2 separate regions of the Homo sapiens genome follow, and region 1 is linked to region 2. Evidence: promoter capture Hi-C in 16 types of primary human blood cells and fetal thymus (Javierre and others, 2016). All regions are on one chromosome and are shown on one strand. Each heading gives the region's core, a stretch centred on a gene start or on the middle of the fragment in contact. The rest is flanking DNA. Distances are from core to core; before and after follow the strand shown. Region 1 holds the start of WDR48 (WD repeat domain 48). Region 2 overlaps EXOG (exo/endonuclease G).

The links. The method cuts DNA at HindIII sites, captures the fragments that hold promoters and counts their contacts. A CHiCAGO score of 5 or more calls a contact.
Region 1: the fragment with the promoter of WDR48 here is called in contact with a fragment that was not itself captured in region 2 in 8 of 17 cell types (total CD8 T cells, naive B cells, M1 macrophages and 5 more); the score reaches 8.7 in total CD8 T cells.

What each region holds. Positions count from the first base shown.
Region 1 is chr3:39,049,403-39,053,833 of GRCh38, forward strand. WDR48 (WD repeat domain 48) reads left to right here and starts at 2,614. Exons shown (of 19, transcript NM_020839.4): 1 at 2,614-2,671. The coding sequence starts at 2,624. SCN11A (sodium voltage-gated channel alpha subunit 11) reads right to left here and starts at 2,542. Exons shown (of 30, transcript NM_001349253.2): 1 at 2,459-2,542. RefSeq lists enhancers at 1,775-2,647, 2,318-2,407, 2,418-2,467, 2,488-2,677 and a silencer at 2,718-2,817. The HindIII fragment of the contact is 5,994 bases long and covers 1,141-4,431 here.
Region 2 is chr3:38,517,866-38,522,397 of GRCh38, forward strand. The region is part of intron 5 of EXOG (exo/endonuclease G); the gene reads left to right. Among named protein-coding and RNA genes, the nearest start is that of EXOG, 24 kb to the left of the region's middle. The HindIII fragment of the contact is 592 bases long and covers 1,130-1,721 here.

The DNA.
Region 1 (4,431 bases), core at 1,364-3,863, 530 kb after region 2:
TGAGTAATTCCCTAGATGGTGGTGTCAGCGGAAGTACAGTGAGCAGGGAAAGCAAATCTCAATCTAGAATAAACATATTTTAGAGAGGACAAATAAGAACTCCCTCAATGATGGGGAGGGCCAATGACCAATGGAATAGACTTGCCTACATGTGACTGGCTGACCCTCCCAGAGCATGGGGTATTGGTCACTGCTTCTGAACACCCAGCGGTGGCTTGGTGATCCCATGCATAGCTCCAATCCTGTTGCCATTGCCATTGCCATTTATTTCATGATTCTACTGAGCAGGCAGTGAGGCTGAGTTTCATCACAAAGCAGTTCATTTCATCCATATGATTCTTAAGATTTATTCTGAGAGGTCCATCACTATATCCCTTCTGGAGTCTTCCTTGTCACTAGTTCTCCAGTCTTGCTCTTTCCATGTCCTTCACAAACTGGCCAAAAAATTATCCTCTGACCCTGAATTGACCATTTCTCCTTTCAGCCAAACTGAACATCAAAACATACTGGTGAAAATTCTGCCCACTGAAAGAACTTCACTATTTCAATATTTTTCAGGTCCAAAGCAGGACTACAACATATCAATTTCTAGCAAGTACCAGTATATTGTCCAGAGCAACATACCTGTATTGTATTTTGCACATCATAGGTGCTCAATAGACACTTAAGCAATTTTTAAAATACAGACATATTATTTCCCTACCTGTATTTCAACAGCTTCCCATTGGTCTAAAAGATCCTGCTGGGTATGGCCTCTGCATACTCCTTTCACTTCTCTGTACTCTAAGCCTTGACTCTCAGTTCCTGTAATGTTCCATGCTCTCTCCTGCTACAAGACCTTTGCTCAGACTGTTCCCTCTCCTTGCCTAGTTAACTCTTGACTCAAGATACTTCCTGTCTTACAATCATCTTTCTTCATAGTACTTATCTCTGTATTAATTCCTGTCTCATCCTGGGACTCTAAGTTCTATGACTATGTGCACTCACCACTGATTCCCCAACACCTAATATAGTGCCTGGCATATATGATATGCTAAATAATATTTTGTTAAATGAATGAATACATGAATCAGTGAATGAATAAGCCTGTAATGATGCAGTAATTTACCTATAAGTTATCACTGCCAGTTTTGCTTAAGAAGCTTTCTGCCATCACAATTTTTACTCATCTAATTCACATTTCTTTATTAATTTAAGAAGTATTTGTCAAGACAACTTTTCTAAGCATTACTTATATACTAGCACTATGCAACAGAAATTTGTGACCACATATGTAATTTTAAATATTCTAATATCCATGACAAAATTAATAAATTTTATTTAGCCTAATATACCCCCAAACATCATTTCAACATGAAATCAATACAAAAAATTATTAATGAGATATTTTACATTCTTTTCTTCAAACTAGTCTTTGAAATTTGGGGGTAGTTTACAATTACATATCTCAACTGGAACTAGCTATATTTCAAGTGCTCAAGAGCCACAAATGACTAGCAGATACATCATATGCTATATCCCACAGTGTAGTTCTATAGGATTCACTTTCACTAGAGAGGGTCTGATCACCCTCAGCTCTTATAATTAGTGGTCAGGAAAACCACCTTAAGTCAAACCTAACTGTTCCAGTATAAGAGATGATTTAAACTAGAATTGTCTCTGGGAACAATTTTAGCTGGTGTACCGTTTTCGCCTTCCTATAACATCTTTTTGTCTTGTTTTTTTTTTTTAAACTTTTAAGTTCAGGGGTACAAGTGCAGGTTTGTTATATAGGTAAACTTGTGTCACGGGTGTTTGTTGTACAGGCTATTTTGTCACCCAGGTATTAAGCCTAGTACCCATTAGTTATTTTTCCTGATCCTCGCCCTCCTCCCACCCTCCACCCTCCGAAAGGCCCCAGTGTGTGTTGTCCCCCTCTTTTGTGTCCATGTGTTCTCATCATTTAGCTCCCACTTATAAGTGAGAACGTGCGGTATTTGGTTTTCTGTTCCTTTGTTAGTTTGCTTAAGGATAAGGGCCTCCAGCTCCATCATGTCCCTACAAAGGACATGATCTCGTTCTTTTATGGCCCCACTTTTTATCCTTTTAATTTAAACGGATTCTTTGCTCCCCCTGAAGATGGAGGCCACCTCCTTTGCAAGGACTTCTATCTCTCCCCCTTTGAGGCCACGACATAATTCTCCGCATTTTTAGGTACTTAACAGTAAATCACTTGGTTCACTTGGTTCTCCTGCCTGCCTAGGAAAGGTCAGGAGATGGTCCAGCGCCATGTCTAGCACTGTTAATTCTTTCAGTGCTTTCGTTTTGCTTGGGCCTCTCGGGGAGGGCGCGGAAAAGAGCGCAAGCCAGGGTCTAGGACCACACAAGTGAATTCGTGTTGCTCCCTCAGCCCTGAAAAGTGGCTCTCTCCCCATCAGCATTATACTTGCACAGTGGTTTTGTTTTTAGGTGCATCTACCTCATCACATGGCTACCGGCCACACAGCAACTAACAGCACCGAGGAAACACAACAGCCTGTTTACCTTCAGCCCCGCCACTAACCCTTGGCCAAAGGGAAAGGGGCAGGACATCCTCCCGCTCTGAGCCACCTCCGGAAGTGACGTCGGAGTGTCAACATGCAAGATGGCGGCCCATCACCGGCAGAACACAGCAGGGCGGAGGAAAGTGCAGGTATGGAAGCCCGGTTCCTCGGTCTTCCGGACGCGGCCGGCAGCTCCGGGCCCACTCCAGCTAGAAGGTGCCCGGCGCCACGACCAGCTGGGGTAGCGGCATGGGGCGAACGGGGCGGGGCGCGGCCGGCCACGAGGGGTGGGGCCGCGGCGCTAACGGCTTGAGGAAGGGGCGGGGGTCGGCTTGCTTGGCCCTTGGGGCCCAGGCCCGGGACCCTCGTGGGCGGCATTCTGAGCCCGGGATTGCTTGTCGCCGCTCTTCTGTAGGAGTGGACTTGCGGGGTCGGGATAGGCTCGTTCCCCGCCCACTTGCCTCCCCCTTGCCCTGTCTTTCTTCGAAGCGCTCTGCCCTCGCTGCGTCGGAGCCGAGGCCTCCAGGGGTTTCCCAGGGGGGTGGGCGTTGGAGGAGTGAGCGGCTTGTGCGGGGGCGTGGCGAGGCGGCGGAGCGCCAACGGCCCTGCGGGGTTTCTGCTGAGGATTCCGCACTTGGGAGCCCCCAGCCCTCTCTTATGTGGGAGCTGTCCCCTGGGTAGGTTTAAGTGACATAAGAATGTGCGTGGGGAAATTATAATTTTAATTGTTTTGGTATTTAAGTTCCTCTTCACCATTTCTTCATCTTAAGTGTGCATCGCTGAATCTGTCTTTATTGTTTGTGTAATTTATTGTCCATGTGGTAAAGAGTTGTCTAATCTTACCGTGTGTGTCTTGTGCCTTATGCCTTTGTGAATTCACTTTTGTTTGCGGTTACGCTTAAGAGTTACTGCCACTTCGGGGAACATCACACACCGGGGCCTGTCGGGGGCTGGGGGCGCTAGGGGAGGGATAGCATTAGGAGAAATACCTAATGTAAATGACGAGTTGATGGGTACAGCAAACCAGCATGGCACACGTATACCTATGTAACAAACCTGCACGTTGTGCACATATATCCTAGAACTTAAAGTATAATAATAATATTAAAAAATAGTTATTGCCACTTAATATTTTCAGTGATGCAGGGAATAAAAGCCCTCTTACAGGTGTTTGCCTGCAGGTATATTGTATGTGGTAGTGGCAGTTTGGTGCATTTATTCATTAAACATTTACCTAGCACTTAGGGTGGCCCCCAAAGGGGAAAAGGGATTGAAAGGGTGTAGAAATAATTAACACCTAGGCTTTCTTTATAAAACACAGCATTATATGGAGTTCTGCGGGTTGAAATCAAGTGTCAGATAAAGGTAGTTAGATGAAGGGGTCCTTCAGTAAGGTAATCCCAGCAGAAGGTGGTAGGCCATAAAGTCTTCTGATTAGTTCACATCTTGGTTTTATTGATCTCACTGATCAGTACAGTGTCTTAAGCACTCACTGGATGTTTGTTGAAATGAGTGAAATTAATAAGTCTAAACTCACCCTATTAGGTGTTTTTCAGTGCATTAGTGATAGGATTTAAGTATCACCAGCATCCAAGGCAGGTAGTGAGAATGTCTCCTTGGGACTGAAATATAACTCAAAAAGTAACCCGATTGTATTATAGACTCTATGGTGGTGTACATCTTAGGAGAGTAAGGGTAGTTAATCAGGCCTTTCAGTTTATTGCATTAAGACTTAAAACTCCTATTACTGCAGTGTGTTCCCTGCTTGCTTCCTTCCCAGGCCTGCCCACTCCCAAAATGCATGCAATAAAGTATATATATTTTAAAAAGACTTACAAGGCAATTGTACTAGTATGGGATGGAGAAAATGTAAATTAACTGCAGCAGGTTTGGAAAAACAGTGTTCCAA
Region 2 (4,532 bases), core at 176-2,675:
TTTTATATATTTATGTTTTTCACTAACAAATATCTCCATAATAATACTGCTTTTATTAGTTTTGGCATTATATTTCAAGTCAAACTTTATTTCAGGTAGAATTTTAAACCTAAAAATCTTTGGTGTATCTGTTAGATGAAAGCAAAATATAGTTTGTTAGTAAAATAAATTTGAAAAATTATCTTGAAATTCTTGCCAAGAATTTAATTGGGCCCAAATTTTTATATATATGCACACACACATGTATCTATAAACTTGGGAGAATTTGGTTAAGAAATAGAGATGTGGGAGGTCTACCTAGGCAAGGTGAAGAGATGAGAAGCGATAGGATATATGCTGAGAAAACAGTTAAGTTAGAGCGTTCATGTAGGGAAGGAGACAAAAATAAAAGGAAAGTTTGGGGCCTGGTGGCAGAAACTTCAAATGACCAGCTAAAAAGTTTAGGCAAGAACTTCAAGATAATTTTCTAGCAAGCAGGGCCTTTGAAAAGTAGGCAATTAATTATAAAACAAATATAGATAAAATGATGTCCTTTAATTATTCTGGGAAAGGGGACACAGCATTGCCCAGTGCTGGAGACTGGTCTGTTTCTCTCAAGCAACGAATAATTTGAATCATGAATTCCCACTTTCAAGGCAATGTCTTGCAATTACGTACGGCAATTCAGAGTGCTTGGAAAGTGTTTTGTTTTCTCAGATCTAGCCATTTAATATTTACTGCTTGCTTACAACTATACTCTGAACCTTATTTTAGGAAGTTGTACCCAATAAAAGGGTTTATTTAGTTTTCTGTCCAGGCAATGAAGCATATATGTGTTTTTACTTTGGGGGAAGTAAAGCAAATGAACTGGCATTTCTTGAGGGCCAGGTATACCAGGCAGTATGTAAGTAGCTTTATATATGCATCTCATTCAATCTTCACTACACCCTTACAAAAAAAGTAGTGACCATTTTCTTTTATAGACAAGAAAATCAAGGCTTTAAGGATCAAGTCTCAGGCATATAGCTTATAATTGTCAAAGAGGGTATCCAAACATGGGTCTGTCTGACAATTGCCAGTCATTCACAGTGTTACTCTTTGAAGCGCTCAAGTTTATAGTAAATGAATTGCTGTGCTGTTCATATACAAAAGCTTAAGGTTAGCAGATAATAAAAGATGGTGTGGATGGAGAGAGGAGTTACAAGTGATACTTGCTAGCATGCAAAAATAACAGAAAATGGGCCAAGAGGAGGATTCCTTATAGCCAGGCAGAAATGTCTGTTAGAATATGTAGGAAAGGATCACATCATCATAGAACTTGAGTGAATATGAGCCTAAGGGAAGATTCGTAGCAGTGATTTTATCAGAAGTGAGTCATCTGACAGTTCTAATCAGAATCACCCCCTTTATTATATAGCTGAGGTCATCCCTGTGCTTTCTCTGATGTTCCTGTTTCAAGAAGAGGTTGATTCCAGACAAGTGAAACATACCTGAAGATTCTGGTTTGGACATTATAAATGGTCTGACAAGAAAGTGAGCTTCAGATTTTAGAACTCAGTGATGGTGGTAATGTTAGAAATATTTAACAATCTGTGTTCTTTTATAACAGCACTTTGCAAACTTCCATTATACTAACCCTAAAGGGGAGGAAATTGAAAATGCCCTCAGGAGTCTTGAGACATCATTTGAAGTGATATGGGAGTAATATTTTTTTTTAAGTCTCTTGCTTTATATTTAGGGAAAGCTTTTGTTCATTTCCATATCTATTTGTTTTAATGAAAGTTAAATTATTTTACTGGTTGTCTCCCTACCCTCACCCTAAATTTTCAAGTACCATTGACAGCCTAGAAAGAGGGTGCTTGTTTTACTGTGACTTAGTAGGCTGCTACCCTTTGGCCTGGAACAGGTACCCCAGTGTGAGAAGTACCGTCTTCCAGGGTTTGTGCTGCCACAAAAGCATCTGCTGAGGCTCTATAGATAACACAGGGGGCGACCACATTCTTGTTGACTTTACCACACTTTGTGACTCCCTCACTTTTCATGTTCCTTCCCCCCCTCAGGTTCGGATTTCCTGTTTATCAAACTCCCATGGTTTCTTTCTTTCACTTGATCGGCATGACTTTTTAAGGGCGTGGTCTCTTGATCTGTCCCTCTAGTTTTATTTTTGGAGTTTCTTTTTTTGTCTTACCAGGGGAATGTAACCAAATATATCTATCTAATTCTAGCAGGTACATATTTTTTCCTCTTGATGCTGCTTAATATTTTATTGGAGGCACATTTACAGTATGTATGACCTTACAAATGGCAGGCTTAATATGGGTATTGTTTGTTTTGGGTCTCTTCTGGGTCTGGGTGGCACAGGTGGTGGTGGCAAATTGTCATTTCTGTCTCTTGGATGGAAGGAAACAAGCTCAGGCCAGTATATAAGAAAACTAGCTTCAGGTTGCGAATGAGTGCCAGCTTATGTATTGTATTTTCTAGTTAACTCCCAGTTGACTTCCAATTTTTGCTACAGTCTTGAGTAGAGTTCAGTGCTTCTTGGGAATTTAATAGCAGCAAGGGTTTCCTTTGCAAAATATTTTTATACCTAAATCTTACATGAAAAGGGTTGTTTGCTGACTCACTGATTAACTAGACTTGGTTTATGTTAAGCCTTTGAGTCCTTTGTTACAGACATCATTTGTGCCCAAGTTGCTTTCTCCTCCTGAAACCCCATTGCTGACCTGTAACTAGTCTAATCTTGCTTGATTATACGTTTCCCCCGCCCCCATCCCTCTGTAAAACCATCTTTTGTACCAAATGCCGTTGTATCTTTTGAATGATGTCCACTACAAAATAGCTTTTTACATAGATCTTGTAGATTTTGAAAAATTTTTAACTAACATGTCATTGTATCTTCATAACAATTCTATGAGAGAGGCATTTATAAAATACAAAATAGCAATCCACCCACGGGGATGGCTGTTACGTATTTTGTAAATGAAGAAACAAGAAATGGGTGGACGCGACTTGCAGCTTAGTGGCAAAGCCAGGTTTGACCAGGTCTCTGGGCTTCCAGTCCACCAAACCTCTAGTAGTGTTTAGAAACATTTCTGGAAGTCTCCCAATTTTTCCAAAAGTAGGAAAAATTTATTATGTAGATTGAGTTGTCTTTAAAGAGACAGCTCTAAAATATTTTACGATTGATGTTGTTTTAAAAAATTGTCTTAAATTCAAGGAAGAAACGGTGTGTTTTTCTGAATACCCAACTAGGACCTGTCCCTATATTAGACAGATTAAAGATGTTTGCTTCCTAAGAACAAAGCAGACTGAATCAGAAAAGAGATTAGTGAGTGGCTAAGTTTTTATTTTTCTCCTTAGTTCTAGGGATAGTATTTTACCCCCTTGAAATAGTGTGAGAAGGTCATGGGTAGAAGGATCACACCTGTGATTCCTAATAGGAATTTCTGTTTCCATGAGGTTTCTCAAAAGTAGAATCGAGGTCCTTTAGCAATTGTAAGAGTTTTTAAACACCTATAGAAATGGTACATTTGCATAAAGTAAAGCTGTAGAACTGAAAATGTCCAACGTCTTTACTTTTGGCTGGAATTTTACGAGCCTGATTAGCTCTGCATGGCAGCAATGGGCATGTTAATTATATTTGAAAATTGCCGTTTGTTTGTAGACAAGGAGTCCATGAGGAGAGAAAATCAAGTGAATGTTCTTGAACTGTACTGCAGTGATGGGGAATGTCCACAAGGTGGCGCAAAGACTTTGTTTAACTGCTGGATTCCTAGCTAGCACCTGGAATACTTGAAGCCCCTTTCACCTTCTCCCTCTTTGCAAACTATGGCTCAGCTGCATCTGTGCCCTCAGTTCTGGTCCCCAGCTTCCCCTGAATCCCCTTCGTGCTGTTATTTGGGCTTTGTATTGGTACCTAACCACATTCTACCTGTAGTGAAAGCTGAAGGTCTTGGTTCCCACTCTAGGTGGTAAGTTTCTTGAGTGGAGGCACCAGCTGCATATACTTTAAAGCATATTCTTTTCTGTATTTCCAGCAATGCCAGGCACAGGACCTCTGAGTTGCATTGTTGAATTAACATCTTTTGGTTATTTGTGAGTTAATTGTGGACTTCCATAGGGTTCTCCCTCAGTATATTTTTGGCTTTGAAGAGTATGTTTATCTTCCCAGCTGCATAAATGAATTTTTGGGGTGAAATGGGGATTTTATGTTTGTAGTACATAGTTTCATAGACTTTACACCACACCCCGACCAACCACTTTCAGTAACTTCGAAGACAGTTGGTTATGGAAATCATTCCCGTGCACGGGTCTTCCCTGAAGCTCTGCAATTGGTCTTGGCAGTGGGACCTTCATGTGTGACAGACAGCAGATGGCCATGGAGTTCCCAGGCTGTGTGCCATGTAGGTAGGAGCTTGAAAAAAGCAGAAAAGAAACCTCCTTTGTAGCTGTCGTGTCTCTGTCTTATTTGGGCTCACAAGAAGGAATCTTGCTGCAGGCAGAGCTGTCTGATCAGGAAAGAAAACTGACTCTTACCAGGGAAGGGCCCGGGA